3 separate regions of the Homo sapiens genome follow, and all the other regions are linked to region 3. Evidence: promoter capture Hi-C in 16 types of primary human blood cells and fetal thymus (Javierre and others, 2016). All regions are on one chromosome and are shown on one strand. Each heading gives the region's core, a stretch centred on a gene start or on the middle of the fragment in contact. The rest is flanking DNA. Distances are from core to core; before and after follow the strand shown. Region 1 overlaps GIGYF2 (GRB10 interacting GYF protein 2). Region 2 overlaps INPP5D (inositol polyphosphate-5-phosphatase D). Region 3 holds the start of DGKD (diacylglycerol kinase delta).

Region 1 (2,700 bases), core at 193-2,692, 500 kb after region 3:
CTTTCTTAGATCTATAAATAGAAGATGAGATCCAAGGGAATATTTAAGTCCAAACGGTCTGACCTCATTTTCAGAGCAACCTTTTCCCTAACAGCCTATCCTCAAGTCCCAAAGCTTCTTAGCTAGAACCCACAGTTAGAATTTAAGGAATGTTTTAAAATCTATTCACCAATTTCATCCAAATTGGAAAAAATTTCAGGCTGCTCCATCCATCCTTATCAACTTTTGAGACAAGCAGAGGAAAACAGAATTGCACCAGATCTACAAGTTCCCAAACCCAGCTTTCAGGCACCAATTCTTTGTTATTATTATTTTTAAATAATATTTTAAACATTATTATTTTAAATTATTATTTTTTTGAGACGGAGTCTCACTCTGTCGCACAGGCTGGAGTGCAGTGGCGTGATCTCAGCTCACTGCAACCTCCGCCTCCTAGGCTGCTCAAGTGATTCTCCTGCCTCAGCTTCCCGAGTAGCTGGGATTATAGGCACCCACCACCACGCCCAGCTAATTTTGTATTTTTACTAGAGACGAGGTTTCACCATGTTGGCCAGGCTGGTCTCCAACTCCTGACCTCAAGCGATCCACCCGCCTCAGCCTCCCAAAGATCTGGGATTACAGGCGTGAGTCACCGCGTCTGGCTTCAGGCACCAATTCTAAAGGACAGTCCTAAAAGTTAGGTTTTACTGTCATGTTGTTTTCACCAGGGCTGGAAGGCTCTGAGGGAAAGAGAGAATCCTACCAAGGGTACAGTAAGGTTACCACCTGCCTCTCACTGTGCGGGGTCTCACGCTCTTCATGATGTCCCACAGACATTTCAAACTCAACCCAGTCAACACTCAATTCCCCTCAGCCTGTGCCATGTTCCACTGCTTATCATTTCACAGCAAATGGCAACACCATCCATCCATCCTGGTCCCCAAGCCTGAGACCTTTCCACTCTTCTTGTCCAGTTAATTCTATCCCCTACATTTCTGAAATCCATCTAACTCCTTTTCATCCCCACTACCAAAACCCTATTCCAAGTCACTGGTATCTTTTACCTAGTCTATACTGCAGCCTCCTCACTGTTCTGCCCTCCTGACAGGACAACAACCGGAACTTCCATCCTTGCGAATGTATTCTATTGCAGACAACATGGTTTTATAGCCACTAATTTTACATTCACAAATAGAAAATAATTTTAGGGCCGGGCGTGGCGGTTCACACCTGTAATCCCAGCACTTTGGGAGGCCAAGGCAAGAAGATCACCTGAAGTCAGGAGTTCAAGACCAGCCTGGCCAACATGGCAAAAACCCCTCTCTACTAAAAATACAAAAATTAGCCAGGTGTGGCGGCATGTGCCTGTAGTCTCAGCTACTCAGGAGGCTGAGGCAAGAGAATCGCTTGAACCCGGGAGGCAGAGGTTGCAGTGAGCTGAGATCACGCCACTGCACTCCAGCCTGAGCAAGAGTGAGACTCCATCTCAAAGAAAAAGAAAAAGAAAAAAAAAATGTTAGTTTCATCACTGTTGCAAAAAACATGGGCAGCCTATACTGTTTGTTATTCCTGAAACAATATTCCCCATCCTTTCTGCCATTCTTTCAAAGCCCAAATTCAGATGTCACCTTTTCAGAGAAGCTAGAGTGCAGTGGCATGATCACAGCTCACTGCAGCCTTCAACTCCTGGTCAAGGAATCCCCCTGCCTCATTCTCCCAAGTAGCTGGGACTATAGGTGGGCACCACCATGCCTGTTTTTAAAATTTTTTTTAGAGATATGGTCTCGCTACGTTACCCCAGCTGGTCTCAAACTCCTGGCCTCAAGTGACCCACCTACCTCAGCTTCCCAAAGTGAGCCACCGTGCCCAGCCTGCCTTGCATGGTCCATAATGCTAGATAAAAATAGCCGTGGGTAACACAGAAGGGTGGAAAGAAAACAGGCCTGCCTTGAAATCCCAGCATCCCATAGCAGAAAGCTATGTAACACTGGGAAATGTTCTCAATCTCTGTGCCTTGGTCTACTCATTATTGGTGAAACTGGTATGTCACCTCATAATGCAAAGTAATTCTGAGAATTATATGATACATAGAGTGATTATGAACATATACTGGTTCTCTTCTTGGAACACCTGATCGGATTAATGGTCTGCTTTCAATACAAATAAGCATTTAAGTTTTTAACATACTTTTAGTATCGTTCATTATTAGCATCATTTTCCAACTAAATTACTCAGGATCCTCCAGGGAAATTCATATTAAATATCAAACAATACTTTAAAGCACCAAACAATACTTTAAAGCACCATACAATATAAGTTGTTATTACATGAGGCACAGGTCCTGCACTGAGACGCCCAGTAAATACTGGCTACTTATTTTGAACCAGTTAAAACATTAGTTATTGATAAAAAGAAATATTTCCCTTCTTGAAAAACAATGCTCAATGGAAACTCACACAGGATAACTGGTATCACCTGCACTCCTCCAACACTCAGCTGAGACTAGGACCGTGCTCACCTAATAAACTGGGATCTGCTCGGACCATCTTCTGCTTTTTCTTCTTCTTGCCACTCTGCACAGCCTCAAAATTGGATTGTTGGTTGTTGCTTTGATTGGTCTGAAATACTGAATGGAGTGTACTGTGGTTCATCCCCCACACAGAGTCCTGTGAAATAAGCAGCATGACTGAGATTACACAGCAGATTCAGACTTGGCTCACC
Region 2 (2,700 bases), core at 45-2,544, 270 kb after region 3:
GGTTAGAGAAAGAGATGTTGAGCCCAAGGATGTCTGACAGGAACATAAGTCATTAGGAATGTCTGGGACAGGGCTGGAGCAGGTCCCAGAAACACGACACAGGCTAAGGAGAAGGAAGACCCAGAGACTGTGTTGTCAGACCGTGGCTCATGGGCATTTGGTGCAGTGAAACTCGATATTCAATTTGAAATTTTCACTTTTCTGCTTTGAAATTCCCCTGGGATAGTTTAAACCTTTGTAAGTTAGGACACTTTTAGCTGTTAGAAAACCCTAACTCAACTAACTTGAGCAAAAAGAAATTAATTAACTCACAAAACAGAAAATCTAGAGGAGGGCAGATCCCAGGTTGCTTCATTCTGTTCAGCAAATTCAAGGGCATCATCCAGGACCCAGGTTCACTTCTCCTTTCCGTGTGTTGGCCTCACTCGCCAGCTACCTCTCCTCATGGTTACAAGGCAGCAGCAGAGACCCAGCTATCACATCCTATGGCAGCTTCCAAAGGTAGGAAAGAGGCTATCTTGGCTGGGTGCGGTGGCTCACACCTGTAATCCCAGCACTTTGGGAGGCCAAGGCGAGCAGATTACCTGAGGTCAGGAGTTCGAGACCAGCCTGACCAACATAGTGAAGTCCCATCTCTTCTAAAAATACAAAAATTAGCCCGGCATGGTGGCAGGTGCCTGTAATCCCAGCTACTTGGGAGGCTGAGGCAGGAGAATCACTTGAACCCAGGAGGCGGAGGTTGTGGTGAGCCGAGATCATGCCATTGCCCTCCACCCTGGGCAACAAGAGCGAAACTCTGTCTCAAAAAGGAAAGAAAGAAAGAAAGAAAGAAAGAAAGAAAGAAAGAAAGAAAGAAAGAAAGAAAGAAAGAAAGAAAGAGGCTATCTTATCCCTATGTCTGTTTTTAAGACAAACAGACCTTTACTAGAAGCCCACAAAGCCCTTCTCTTCACATCTCATTGGTTACACTTGCATCCCATTCCCCAGTCTAAACTTATCGGCTACATGGTGCATGTTGATGTTAGTTCTAGACCGCTTTGGGTAACAAAGACAGGAAACAGGCCCATGATCTGGGGCAAGGTGAACCAGAAGGCTCTGGAACATGGAGAAACAAGGACAAAATGGCTAGTGGGGATGGGGAGAAAATAAAGACAGTCATTTGGAGGTAGAGATGACAAATGGCATGGATACTCTTTCCAGAATTCTCTGACAGACTGGGGAAGGGATTAGGGATCTTGCAGCCACACAAGAGGGAGGGGCTGCTCAGTCACAAAGGCATGTGTACCCCAGGGGGCTAGAAAACGGGGGGAGGCTTGGCTTTCTCAGGGGATTAGAAGAAAGATGCCAGAAGAGCTGGAATAAAAACTTACTCAAAGACCTAACAGAAGAAAGGTCTTTTGTGTCAAAGAACAGAGTTTGCAAAGTGAACAAGCCGAACACATTGCAGGTACTATCAATGAAAGGAAAATGACAACACTGGAAAAGAATTCCCACCGGCTTCAAAGTAGAAAAAAAGAAAAAAATGGGTCGCCTCTATAGGAACCAGCACAAGTTTGGCCTTGGATTTTGTACTCGGAACTATTCATAACGCTACATTCTTTTTTTTTTTTTTCTTTGAGACAGTCTTGCTCTGTCACCCAGCTGGAGTGCAGTGGTGAGACCTCAGCTCGCTGCAGCCTCTGCCTCTCAGGTTCAAGCGATCCTCCCACCTCAGCCTCCGGAGTAGCTGTGACTACGGGCATGCACCACCACACCCGACTAAGTTTTGCATTTTTAGTAGAGACGGGGTTTCACCATGTTGCCCAGGCTAGTCCCAAACTCCTGACCTCAGGTGATCCACCTGCCTCAGCCTCCCAAAGTGCTGGGATTACAGGAGTGAGCCACTGCACCCAGCCTGTAACACTACATTCTTGAAGGTAGTGCTGTACCTTTTACAGGATTTTGAGCGAACAGTTGGTTCCAAGAATTTTATATCTATCAAATTACTCTTGAATGTGTAGACAACTAAAGATGTTTTGAGATATTCAGAGGCTTGGAAAATAGATCTGTCCATATTCTGCAGTAGACAGAAAAACCAATTCAAAATGCAGGCTTCTAGAAGGTGAGTGTCAGAGCATAAAGGAACCCCTCCACCAGCACGGACCCCCTTGGGGCCCATTGTCCTTGGCATGGCTGTGGAGCCCACACAGGGCAGCCCTGGCCGTGCTAGGCTTCTATGCCCTGAACCTTTTCTGTGCCCCTTGTTGTGCAACTTCAGGAAGTGTGTTAGAGCCACATCCTTTGCCCGGCGGCTCAGACGGAATCTTTACTTCACTCAGTGACCACTCAGAACAATAACAGCTGCCACTCGCTTCCTGAGCTTAATAACAATGGCTCAACCGTTCACCTCCCGGATGCTTGTGACGGAACAGCTTTTAGAAAGTTGTTTTGTTTTCCCTCTCCAAAAGCCATGTCGCCCGGAGATACGTGACAGCCACCGTCAGGGACCAGGGACTTGAGTCACAAGTGTCTCTTCTTTAGAACTCACCGGAATGGCTCAGACCACTGGATTTTTTCTTCCAAATCGGGAAAGAATAATGAAAGGGTCTATGAGATAGATATTTTCTAACTCTTCATCTAAACTTGCATGAAAACCTGGGAGTGTGGCTGGGCATGGTGGCTCACGCCTGTAATCCCAACACTTTGGGAGGCTGAGGCGGG
Region 3 (2,700 bases), core at 75-2,574:
AAAGCTAACCCAAGAAAGTGCCTGGCACATAGAAGGCTTATTAAAGAATTGTTATTTGCTATTGCTATCATTATCATCACTACTGCTACTGTTATACCCGGAACAAAGCAGGTGTTCGGTACCTATTTGCTGAATAACTGGAGCACTTCACAACAAACCTGTTTGTAACATGTTAGGACCTCAGGTTCCCCCATCGCAGGTATCAAAGGCTGACAGAAGAGAAGGCTCCCACGGTGAAGGGAACGGCTGAACCTAATCCGCCCCGGAGGAAAAGCGCACTGCAGCAGGAGGAGAAAGTCCGTGCCAACCGGATCTGCCAGAGCTGCCCCAGGGACCCAGCCTGCTCGCAGCCACCTGTCCAGCCACCTGCCTGAGGAAGCAGTGTTCTAACCGGGCGGGCTCACCTGGAGCAAAAACCGTAAGCTGTTTTCAATAGGAAGCACAATGGGAAAACAAACGGTGCAACTTTCCTCCTGCAAAAAGGACGTGCGTCTTTATCTAACATTTAGCGTCAGGAGTTCTCCGTGGAGAGTTGGGTGCCAAGCGGGTGCGCGGTCCCGGCTTTGCTGAGAGAGACGGTCACTGAACGCGCATCCCTTCCTTCCCTTTTGGGATGAAGGGGTGAAGGGGTGATCCCTCGCACCCGGGTCCGAGCGGACTTCTGAGGGCACCACAGGGAAGTCTGCAGGGCACTCGCGGGACACCACCCGACCGCTCCTGAGAAACGTGCAGAACCGGGGTTTGGGGACCGCGGACGCCCGCGGGGCGCAGCCGGGAGCCCCCGCGTGGGACCCGCTCGGTGGCACGAGCGCAGTCCCCTGCATCTAGGCCTCAGTTTCCTCCGGGTCCTCGCGGCCCAACTCGGCGCGCGCCCCCCGCCCAGCGCGCGGCGCCCGGGGCGCCCACCTGCGCGCCCCCCGCCCGGCCCCACAGCCGCCCGCCGTCCGTCGGGGGCCGCGCGCTCCGCCCGGGGCGCCGGCCCGTTACAGCGGCGGGGCACGCTCGACAGGGGCGGTGACGCCCGCGGGACCCCGGGCCGGGCCGAGCCGGGCCTGGGCGGCCGCTCGGGCAGGGCCACGGGCCTCGGCCGGGGCTGCCGCGGCGTGAGGGGCGCGCGCCCGGGCCGCCGCGCCGCGGGCTCACCTTCTGTCGGATCTGACCCGACGTGGACACCTTGCGGATGAGCTTCTGTGGGGAGCCGGGCTCCGCCTCGGGCTCGCTGTCGGACGACTCCTCGGGCGGCGGCGGCGGAGGCGGTTGCGGGGGACCCGGCGGAGGGGCGCCCGCCGCCGCCGCCATGCTGCCGGGCCAGCGCGCGCACCGCGGGCGGGGGCGGGGCGGGGCCGGCGGGAGGGGCGGGGCCGAGGGCGGGCCGGGCCGGGGGCGGTGGGGGCGGCCTCCCGCCTCTCCCCGCCGCGCCCCCTGCCGGCCATGCGCGCAGCTGCAGACGGCGCCGCGCGGCCCCTCCCCGCCCCCACCTGAAGCGTCCCGGGCCCCCCGCCCACCTCTCCGGGCCGTGGCTTCTGTGTGTTATTTCTGGAACGCCGTTTGTGTTCTTGTTTCTATATTCACTTCTTAAAACATCTCTACTCTTCCGCATCAGAATGTAGGTAACCTCAGGCAGGCTGGGGCTGTGTCTGTCCTGCCCAGCCTTGTGTGGCCGAGTTTGGGGCGAGCTCGAATGCGCGCGCGCGTGCTGGAAAGAGACCCCGGTACTGGGACGGGCCTCGGGACGCCAGAGCTGGGATGCACCGCTCCATCTGGGAAGGCTTCCTGGAGAAAACGGTTCTTAAGGAGAGATGGAAAATGTGAGCAGGAGTTGTGACTAGAGAGGGAACCATGTTCTAGGCAGAGACCAGATTTGTGCAAAGGCCTGGAGGCAAGAAAGAACGAGTGTTGGGCGAAGACGGGGGAAGAAAGGGAAGCTGGTGCTTAGAGCAAGGAAAATGGCATTAAGATATGAGCCTCGGGGCGGGCAGGTCGAAGCGGGCTTTGGAAACCAGATAAGGGGATGGAAGGCAGCAGGAAGCCCTTGAGGGATTTAACCCTGGGCGGGGCTGGGTCACCACGCTGGGGCCTGTGATCCGGGCTTTGAAGTTATCAGGGCAGGTGGACGCCCTGGATTACCGAGGGGCTGAGAGATAGAGACGTGGACTGAGATCCAGGTGGGGAGTGACCAGCGACTGGAGGGAGACAGAGGTGACCAGAACGAGTCCCATGTTTCCCAGGGGGGCTGCTGGATGGTGGGCGGGTGGGGTCCAGCGCTGCTCTGGGCAGAAGAGGAGGAAGCGAAGCTGGAGATGAGATCAGCTAAGTTTTTGGTGCCATCCAGGTGGAGCAGGGCTTGGTGCCACCCAGAGGAAATGCTGTCCATCTGTCTGCCCTGCTCTGAGGGGCAAATCAGTAAGGGACTGCCCAGGTGTGCCCTCTCCCTGTCAAAGGGCTGCCGCTAGAGACCTCGCCTGCCAATAGGCATTCGCTGGCCGCGCCGCCCTGGGCAGTGACCTGGGGCTGCAGAGTGGCATCTGGCATGGGGACACGGCCAGGGGCATGGGCTCACGGCCAGGACAGAGGAGGACAAGGCCTAAGGCAGGAACAGTCCGGGACAGGCCGAAGGCCCCATGGTGCCCCAGGGTACTATAGCCACTAGCCACATGTGGCTACTTAAATTTCAATTAGTTAGAATTCAGCATTCCGTTC

What was found. Contacts are between HindIII fragments. The CHiCAGO score rates a contact against its expected background, and 5 or more counts as called.
Region 1: a contact is called between a fragment that was not itself captured here and the fragment with the promoter of DGKD in region 3, in 1 of 17 cell types (monocytes). The highest score is 5.0, in monocytes.
Region 2: a fragment that was not itself captured here is called in contact with the fragment with the promoter of DGKD in region 3 in 1 of 17 cell types (neutrophils); the score reaches 5.4 in neutrophils.

Annotation. Positions count from the first base shown.
Region 1 is chr2:232,850,207-232,852,906 of GRCh38, reverse strand. GIGYF2 (GRB10 interacting GYF protein 2) reads right to left here. Exons shown (of 29, transcript NM_001103146.3): 28 at 2,498-2,645. Among named protein-coding and RNA genes, the nearest start is that of SNORC, 19 kb to the left of the region's middle. The HindIII fragment of the contact is 2,651 bases long and covers 117-2,700 here.
Region 2 is chr2:233,084,299-233,086,998 of GRCh38, reverse strand. All of the region lies in intron 2 of INPP5D (inositol polyphosphate-5-phosphatase D), which reads right to left. Among named protein-coding and RNA genes, the nearest start is that of INPP5D, 25 kb to the right of the region's middle. RefSeq lists an enhancer at 2,126-2,175 and a silencer at 2,166-2,460. The HindIII fragment of the contact is 5,674 bases long and covers 1-2,700 here.
Region 3 is chr2:233,353,118-233,355,817 of GRCh38, reverse strand. It overlaps DGKD (diacylglycerol kinase delta), which reads right to left and starts at 1,324. Exons shown (of 30, transcript NM_152879.3): 1 at 1,144-1,324. The coding sequence starts at 1,299. RefSeq lists a silencer at 1,135-1,374 and enhancers at 1,625-1,674, 1,815-1,874. The HindIII fragment of the contact is 8,442 bases long and covers 1-2,700 here.